3 separate regions of the Homo sapiens genome follow, and regions 1 and 3 are each linked to region 2. The links are contacts of gene promoters, found by promoter capture Hi-C in blood cells and fetal thymus (Javierre and others, 2016). All regions are on one chromosome and are shown on one strand. Each heading gives the region's core, a stretch centred on a gene start or on the middle of the fragment in contact. The rest is flanking DNA. Distances are from core to core; before and after follow the strand shown. Region 1 holds the start of ENTREP2 (endosomal transmembrane epsin interactor 2). Region 2 holds the start of NSMCE3 (NSE3 component of SMC5/6 complex). Region 3 overlaps APBA2 (amyloid beta precursor protein binding family A member 2).

The links. The method cuts DNA at HindIII sites, captures the fragments that hold promoters and counts their contacts. A CHiCAGO score of 5 or more calls a contact.
Region 1: a contact is called between the fragment with the promoter of ENTREP2 here and the fragment with the promoter of NSMCE3 in region 2, in 1 of 17 cell types (endothelial precursors). The highest score is 8.6, in endothelial precursors.
Region 3: a fragment that was not itself captured here is called in contact with the fragment with the promoter of NSMCE3 in region 2 in 1 of 17 cell types (total CD8 T cells); the score reaches 6.0 in total CD8 T cells.

The regions. Positions count from the first base shown.
Region 1 is chr15:29,569,404-29,572,378 of GRCh38, forward strand. ENTREP2 (endosomal transmembrane epsin interactor 2) reads right to left here and starts at 1,576. Exons shown (of 11, transcript NM_015307.2): 1 at 1,102-1,576. The coding sequence starts at 1,320. The HindIII fragment of the contact is 6,565 bases long and covers 1-2,975 here.
Region 2 is chr15:29,268,301-29,271,261 of GRCh38, forward strand. NSMCE3 (NSE3 component of SMC5/6 complex) reads right to left here and starts at 1,522. Exons shown (of 1, transcript NM_138704.4): 1 at 1-1,522. The coding sequence starts at 1,405. The coding sequence ends at 491. The region is part of intron 2 of ENTREP2 (endosomal transmembrane epsin interactor 2); the gene reads right to left. RefSeq lists enhancers at 817-1,318, 1,319-1,818. The HindIII fragment of the contact is 8,019 bases long and covers 1-2,961 here.
Region 3 is chr15:28,903,963-28,907,174 of GRCh38, forward strand. The region is part of intron 1 of APBA2 (amyloid beta precursor protein binding family A member 2); the gene reads left to right. Among named protein-coding and RNA genes, the nearest start is that of APBA2, 20 kb to the left of the region's middle. RefSeq lists an enhancer at 1-252. The HindIII fragment of the contact is 217 bases long and covers 1,168-1,384 here.

The DNA of each region.
Region 1 (2,975 bases), core at 326-2,825, 300 kb after region 2:
AGCTGGACGAATTTTTCAAATTTTAAAACTCAAGAACAAATAGCAAACATTAGTTTTAAAGGATTGGTTTGGATTTCTGTAGATGGAAGTAAAACATACTGAGTTTACAAGCCTATGCGATGTATTTCAGCACGATCCACCAAATGCAGTTACAGATGTCAAGAGTTCTCAGAACAAGTGCCTCTCTTCATAAATATCTGCTCTGCATATATATCTCTCCCATTCCCATAACGTCCATTCTTTGTTAATATAGGAAAAAAACCGACTTTCATCAAAATGCTACAAAACGCCAAAAATTAACTCTTGGGGACAGTCACTTTAATCGAGACGTCTTTCTTCTATGGAGATTTGTTCACCACTGGCTTCTCTGATTTGGTGGTTAAGAGTCTGAAAATCGGTCATCCTTAAGGTCTGGAGCTCAGAAAGCACGCCGCCCCCCCTTGCCTGCCCCCTGCCCCAGGACGCCGGATGCGGGTCGCCTGCCCAGTCCCGTCGCCCACAAACCACGCCGTTCTGGGCGGACGCGGGAAACCAGAAGTCCCCGAAGCCAAGTCAGCGAGCGACCACAGGGGCCGCCCGGCCGATCCCCGATATCCGGGCTGACCCAAAACCCGACGGGAGGCGCCCCTCCCCCGCCCCCCCACCCCACCCCCCACCCCCACCGCCCCCGGTCAGGGCCGCCGCGAGGGTGAGAGGCGCGCCCACATGCTGCTCCGCTCCGGGTTCGGCTCCCACCTCCTCGCCTCGGCCGCGGCCGCTCGGATGGCGAGGTCGTGTCCCCGGCGCGCGCGGTCCCCGGCGCTCCCTCCGGCCGCTGCGGGCTCGGAGGACGGCGGGCGCCTGGCTGCTGTTTCCTCCAAGAAAAGTAACTCCGGGAATCAGCGCAATAGGAGCGGGAACGCGATGCTCCGAGAGCGGCGAGCCGGGCCCTGGAGTTATTCTGCTCGGAGTTTCGAACTGCGCCCCGCGCTGCAGCTACTCGGCCCCGGCGTTGGCCGCCGGAACTTGCCGCCCGCGGTGGCGTCCCGGCGGCCGCAGCGCCTAGCCCCCCCGGCCCGCGCAGTCCCCGGAGCCCGTCCCCGCCTGGTCGCGGACACTCACCGAGAAGCCTGCCCAGAAGGGGCAGGAGTGGCGGACGCGGGCCGAGGTGGTGAGCGCCAGCGCGGCGAAGCTGACTGCCACGATGAGGCATCCGAGCGCCATCTGCGTGGCCCCGAGCGCCAGCACGATGCGGGAGCGGCCCGGGCACTCGCGCAGGCGGGACAGGCTGCGGGGCAGCGCGGCGGGACGCGGCGCTCGGGGGCCGCCGGCCGGAGGCATCGCGCCGGGCGCCCGCACGCCTCGCCCGCTCCCGCCCGGCCCGGCGCGCGCCGCCGCCTCTCCTCACAGAGGGTCCGAGGCAAGTTGCGCCGGGTGCAGGGACGGCCTCCCAGCCGGCTGCCAGGGCTGCGGCGGCCGCGCGCCGGGAGCGGGCCGGGCCGGGCGGGGAGCCGGGCGCCCGCAGCCCCCGCCGGTGCCCGCGCCCATGCCGCCGCCGCCGCGCCGCCCGCCCGCCGGCCGCGCCGCGCTGCGCCCTCCCCCGCCCGCCCCGCGCGCTCCCCGGCCCGAGCGCGGGCGCGAGCCGCCGCCGCTGCTGCCGTACCGGGCGCGAGCCGCTGCCGTCCCCGGGCGCGAGCCCCGCCGCCGTGCGCTGGGCCCCAGCTGGGGCGGGAGCGGGAGCCGGGACCCGGGAGCCGGGAGAGGGGCGGGGAAGGCGCAGGTGCGGTCCTGGCGTCCCAGCCTCCGCGCTCACGCCTCGCGCCCTGGCGGCTGCAGGTCTGCGGAAGGAGAGCGGGGGCGGCAGCGCATCAAGGGCAACGGCATCAGCCTCCGCGGCGGAGCCCTGGGTCGGCTGCGCGGAGGGGCCCGATAGCGGCAGCGGGCCAGCCGAGCCTTCAGAGCCTGGGGACGGCTCGGGATGGGCGCGCGGGGCGCTGAGGACGGGGAGACGGGCTGGGAGCAGACAGGAGGGAAATTCCGAGCGCTGGGCCGCAGGTGTGGCGAACAGGAGCCTCTTGAATGCAAAAATCCAAGATCCAAGATGCTGCTTTTCTGCAGTTCGAGAATCTCCCAAGCCATCCGCTGAGAGAACTCAGCTCTGGAGGACATTCCGAGAACATTGCCAGGACACACACGATGTCCCTTACCCACCTTTGGTTTGCATGCTTTTGATACAAGTTAAAAGTTTGGGCTTTAAAAAAAAATTGCACAAAACGAATTTAAATGCGCAATATCATTAATAACCGATTAAACCATCTCCACTCCCTCTTGCCAACATAGAGTTTAAAATATCTAAGTACTGGCTCCCTTGGAATACCGGGAAATCCTGCAAGTTTTGATTGCCATAATTCCTTTGTGGCCCTGTTGATGAGCCAACTTTAAGACTCTGCTTGTGTTGAAAAGGGCTGCATTGACAGATTAAGAGATCACCAGCGTTAGGGAGTCTGAAGGGACCAGACGTGAAAAGGCAAAGTTCAGAGTAATAAAGGGAAACGGCCGGTCATTTCCTGAGACCATTCTTCCGTGTCTTTCTAGCAGACCTTACTGTTGGATGAGAAACGCTAGAGAGTGTAGTCCCAAAATATCTCGGTTGCTGGTGCTTGAAATTTCACCGTTAGAGATATTGATTCCTTTGGGGCTTGACGATCCTCTATTAAAATGCAAATTCCCCTTGAAGGGGCTATAGCTCAAGCCTTTATCAGCCAACACTTTAGCAGGGATGGGATTTATTTTCCAATTTAACGAGATGGCCAAGGGATGAACAGGGGGTAGGGAATTCCACAGATAGAGTGACTGATCTCAAAATGCTGGCCCGTGGCCAAACGCTGCCTTCTCCCCCAGTTCTTATCTTTAACAGGACTAAGCCTCTGGCCGGCATTGTTTAAAGCACTCCAGTACAAATTCCAATTTCCTGGAGACATTTTCTGCCTAGAAGT
Region 2 (2,961 bases), core at 272-2,771:
ACCATGAATAATACTTATATATGTACGAAATATAGAAAAATAAAATAGGTTAACATAATAAGGATATAGGCAATTATTTTTTTTAATTTTATAAAAACTTTTATTTTTCCTTACAAACTGGGGTAGTTAGGAGACCTGATAATAGCTTTTTTATTTTCTTGGCACCAAAGCAACTTACTTATGTGTTCCTTCTTGCATTATCTGTTCCAGATCATAGTCAAGTTTTCCAATTCGTTTTACTAAGCTAGCAAAATTTTTTATACCAAAAAGAGTAAAATCAAAACAAATGCTCCTTTGTTTATAGATGAAAATCTGGAGCAAAATAACACAACATTAAAAAAACAAAACTTTGCAAACACATCCTAAAGCTACACACATTGAAGCGTTTACAGCAATATGCTCCCTGGGTTCGTTCTCCCTTCCCCCAATCCTCTAAACTGTGCCTTTGGGTCTCAGACCCTTGTCCCGGGGGTCCCTCTGAATCCACCTTTCAAGAGGATGGAGCTGGGCCACTAGGCTGAGGTCTGGCCCTGTTCTCCTCATCTGCCAAAGCCTCACAGTACTGCGCTGGCCAGTCCTTGGGGTCTTGATTATGGACCTTGGCCACAAACTTAAGAACTTTCATCTTGCTGGTTTCCAGGTTGGTTCGCGGGCCCCACTGGAATTCGTAGTCGACGGGGTCGGTGTGGGGTATCCGCCGGTATTCCAGGTAACGCTGTCGCACAAAGTCCTCAGTAATGAGTTTCTTTGGATCTCCGAAAATTAAATGCTTCTTGGTGGGGTAGACCCCTAAGCGCCGCAGAAAGTCCCAGGCTTCAGTTTCCTTGATGGTGTTGCCCTTCATAAAGATGAGCCCTAAGACGATCATCAGGAGGCCCGTAGTGGGCGTGCCTTGGTCACCCCTCATCTCGGCATCCTCCTCCACAGGCTCCAGGGTGTTGATGAGGATGTAAGTGTTGCTCTTGGGTTCAAGTTCCACCAGCTTATACCCGAAGACGTACTGGAGGCGCTCGGCGGCCCGTTTGAAGAGGTCGGGGAAGATGTCCTTGTAGTCCCCGATGACGTGCTTCAGTATGTCGGCCCGCTTGATCGGAATCTTCTTCTGGTCTTTAATCAGCAAGAACTGCACCAGCTCGGACACTTTCAGCTCCAGCTGCTTCTGGCTCCTGGGCCCCACGGCGGGGGCGGCCTGGGCCCGGCGGGCGCCCTGAGGCGAGGGGCCCTGCGACCCCTGCGAGCCGCCCGGCCCGCGGGACGTGCTCGGGGCCTCCTCGGCAAAGCCGTCTCTGAGAACCCGGGCGTCTTCCCCGGCCCGCGAAGCCCCGGGGTTTCCGCTATGGCTCCAGTCTCTGTCCCTCTCGGCCTGGCCGCCAGAGCGGCCCCGGTTCCTCGGTTTTTGCAACATGTCTCCGGCGGCAGGTGCCGGCGCACACTCCGGTAGGCAAGCAGCCGCGGCGGGGATTGCGGGTCGGCGACCCGCTAACGCCGGTGCCTGGAGGCGCGCGCAGTGTCGGCTGAGACTGCGTGCTGCGTCATGAAGCCTGCGCCTTGCGTCAGGGCGGCTGGGCGGTGCGCCTGCGCGGCTGCGGCGGGTACCAAAAGGAACAGCGTTTTCCGTGCAGCCCTGCAGGTCCGGGCGATGATTTTTAGTATAGTGAAGTGTTGTTACCAAACCATGCAAACAGAGAGCGAGAACCGAAACTCCTAAACAAGTGTGTCGCTAAATTCAGACCACACAGGCTCAGGCAAGTTTTACAGACAGTATTATGAGTTTCTAAATCGGGAGCATTTGTAAACGGAAAGAATTCAGAGGATGAACGTGTGAGAAAAAAAAAAGGTGAAGAGGAAGGGCCGACCGTGGAAGTAAAGTAAAAACATTTATTTCTACACAAAATGTAGAAGGACATAAAAGACCCAGAGGGCTCTTAGTTTTCGTCCCTCCACCCAATTTCATACCCTCCATCCCACTGCCCCCAGTTACTTTCTCTAATGCCCCGTGGAGTCTGTTAAAAACCAAAGTCGGCTGCAGGCTTTCTGCGCAAGCAGGACTTCAGTTTCACTATTTCCGTATTTATATTCTCTGCATTAAACTCCTTTAGCTAGACAACTATGAGAAGACCACAAAAAACGTGTCAGTATTAGGTAAATGTTTTAGCTTGGTCACATGGGTTTATCTTTTGGAAAACAACTGCTTTCGTCACAACCACAATTTTAGCAGAAATGGGTAAGAGGAATGCTGCAAACAAACGTGCACTCTCAAGAGATTACTACTTAATTTGGGGCATCACTGATCAAGAATTGCAATAATGTGGAGCTCTTAAATTTCTTAATTCATAATATATTAGCTTTGAGGAAAAAAAAGAGAACACTGGGGGATTTATCTCTCATCTATGATGTGATATACAGTCTCTACTGTATATTTTAATTGTGCAACTCAAGTAGCCAAAATGAGTCATTTCATTAACTCAAACCATCAGCAGTCTGCTGCCATGACTTCTACAGATCTTAGCAAATTTGTTTCTTCTCTATTTACTTGCAAAGAAGAAACTGAATTTCCCTGTGTCTTTTTAAAGCTACCCAGAAAGTGGATAAACTCTTCAAAGAACCAAATTGAGTTCCTCTTTAATGCAAATATATTCAAAGGAAAGCAATTTAGAACACATTATCTGAGTAATAGCATCAAACACAACCTTATTAAAATTTTGTTAATTGTTAGTAGCATAACACTTTTGTTTGTAATTCAGTAGGAAAATGCAATCTGATAATGGCACTGGAACTGCAATAGTAAATGTAAAATCATATTCCATGAACTAATGCAAGTATGCTAAAATCTGGTATGCAATGAGTAATAACTTACTGTTCCACACAAGATGCAACTATATCCTCAGGCATCAATTTTAATGACAAAGGCCTACTATGAAAAACAAATATATTATCAAGGCATTCATTTTTTTACAATGA
Region 3 (3,212 bases), core at 26-2,525, 360 kb before region 2:
AAATTAGGTTGAACCATATGAAACTGTTATTTCTGTATGTCAAAAAGTGATCCAATATAGGCAACTTCATATGCCTCAACTCAGCAGTTTAGCATTACAGCGATTTTTGGCAAGAGAGAACACTTTTATTTAAAAAACATTATTTTTAGTTATCACATATGAATTCATTCATTGTATTGGAAAACAGAGATAGCAGAAAGCGAAAGGAGGAAGCTTTGAGATACCAGACTCCACCCGCCGGGGGCCCTCCTGTTGTTTGCCCACGATTCCTCCCTGTTCCTGGGCACCCCGGCTCCCAGCATTCCTTCTCCTGGACGGTATATGAGGAGCACTTTCCACACTCATGGACGGTTTCTTCCACACCCAGCCATACGAGTTTGTCCTTTCTGGAGCTGGATCCCAGGGTTGGACATTAAATTTGTTTAGAATGTTTTTCTGCTATGAATGAATGCTGTAATAAATATCCTTGTAGTTGTGTTTTTTGTTTTTTATTGGCAGATATTCATGATCCCTTACTATAAATTTACAAGAGTAGAATTGCTGGGCAAAATGTTAAGGCTTTTGATTGACATCTGGAAAGGTTTTATTACCCACTGACAGTGAGAGTGAGGGGTTGCCCTCCCCTCTTCCTTCCTTTTCCCTCTTCCCTTCCACCCATTTGATGGTACACCATTGAGCAGCATCCAGCAAACAGTGTTGGTGGCTCCCCTCGTTATCTGCAGCACGCAGACTCCCTGTGTCCAGCAAACAGCGTTGCAGCACCCCTCAGTGTCTGCAGCACGCAGACTCCCTGTGACCCAGCTTCCTAGGCTGGCTGGTGGTGTTTGGAGAGGAAATCAAGAACGTGTGGGGAAGCCCGTGGAGAATTTTAGAGACTTCCCATGACACACGAGGCAGTGGGAGTGGGGCTGGAGAGAGACTGTTAGTTATTCCAGGGAGAGAGGCCTTTTCTGATTGTCCCACTCACCAGCACACTGAGGGGCTGGGCCGCTGACCTGATGGGTTGGGGACCAGAGCCCTGGCTTATGTGCAGTTGTTTCTTTTGAACATGTCTTATTTTGCTGGTGATCTGGCAAGTAGGTTGAAACCAAGCCCTCCCCCAGTTCCTCAACCGCCTGGGACTGCACAGGTGCCTGGGAGTCTGATGGCTGGCAGGCTGCCTTTTGAAGCTTGGCCTGGTGTCCCGGAGCTGTTGGTTGCCCTAGGAATCCAAGGAAAAGCTGCTGAATTCTGCGGCCCCAGGAGGATCTTTGTCCTCCTTTTGCAGAAGCAATAGGTGGATTTGCTCTGTTGAGCTGGAAGGAGGAATTTTTAGATTTCCTCTGGCTGAAGAAGTTAAAATGGAACCATCTACATCAATTCCCCGCAATTGGACTTTGAAGCAAGCTTTCGGAAGAACGGACTTGACTATTTTCTATGCGTGGAAGCAAATTCCTTGGGAACTTCTGGTGAATTTTAAAGTGCTTGTCTATTTTGTTTCATTCTCCAATACTGAGAAGTCTTTAATAACTAGAGGCTGCCTGGGTAGGTCAAGGTCTGAGGGGCAGCACTCCCCACCAGAGCTAGTCATTAAATAGATCTGCCATCTGTAGTTTTTGTTTTGCATTTTGAGATGGAGGTGTTGCTATGTTGTCTCTAGGCTGGACTTGAACTCTTGGGCTCAGGCAATCCTCCCGCCTCAGTCTCCTGAGTAGCTGGGACTACAGGTACATGCCACCGCACCTGGCTTGATATCTCTGTTTTAAAAATGCTGTCTTCTAGCAATTATCTTGTATCTCTGGAGGAGAAAGGTGCCATTTTTCTGGCAGTGGAATTTGGGGCTGAGAAGGACCCTGGCTCCATCAATGGGGGCTGGCGTCTAACATGCTAGATTTTAAGATCCTTTAAATATTTTTTCTGATTATGAAATTAAAATGTACTAATTATAAGGGCTCGAACTTTACAGAAATGCATCATGTAGAATAGAAAATGAAAGCTTCCCCCCAAGTTTCACCACTGCCCCATTCAGTGCCCACAAGGATAATCATTATTCACAATTTGGTGGAGACTCCTCCCATTTTTTTTTTCTGTCTGTGGAAATATTTTACTTGTCTTTTACACAAATACATGTTTTAAAAGTATTTTTCAACAAAATGAGATCCTATTGTAAATAAGATTTGCAGTTCGATCCCCCAGCCGTGTGTCTTAGCCATGATCCCTTGTCCGTTGTGCATAGCAGCATTATTCTTTTTTAAAAAAAATTTACTTTAAGTTCTGGAATACACCTGCAGAATGTATGATAGACTAGATAAAGAAAGTGTGGCACATATACACCATGGAATACTATGCAGCCATAAGAAAGAATGAGTTCATGTCCTTTGGAGGGACTTGGATAAAGCTGGAAGCAGCATTATTCTCTCTGACACTTGCACAATATGTGACCGTTTACTTATTGAACTTTTGGGTTGTTACCATTTTTCTCACTTATGGAAAATGCTGACATGTGGAGTCTCGTACATTAAACTCTTGTGTCTGCATGGGGTTGTTTCCGTAGCATAGGTTCCTAGAAGTGGACTTGCTGGGCTGAATGGTTTGGGCATTCAGAGTGTCAACAGATATTGCCAAGTTGCTCTCTGGACAGGTGGTGACCATTTTAAATGATGCTGGTGTGTGGGGCAGCGGTGTCCCCACTGACACTCTCTGGACATCGACACTCTCTGGACATGATCAGTCTTTGTGGTTTCATTCAGTCATGTGGGTATAAAGTGATAGCTTATTTCATTTTGTATTTGTAAAAATTGTGAATGACAACAAGCTGCTTCTTGTGTGCTTAATACTAATTTGAATTTCTCCTTCTAATTCTCTTTTTCATCCTTGCCTCTTTTCCTCTTGACTTGTGAAGGTTTTTTTTGTTGTTGATTTATAGGTGTTCTTGGTACATAGGGTTATTCCTCATTTGCTATATATATTGCAGATATTTTTTTCTCAGATGCCACTTGTCCTTTGATTTTATTTAAAGACATATTTGGCAATGCAAAAATTTGGAAGTTTTACATTGTTAAATCTATCAAGCTTGCTTTATTTACCCTGAGTTTTGTATCTTACTTAGAGAAAGGGTTTCTCTACCCTAATATATATAAGCACCCTCCTGCATGTTCTGCTAATACTTGATAGTCCAGATTTTTCTACATTTACATCTCTTATTCAATCTAAAATGTATTTTAGATGTAGTG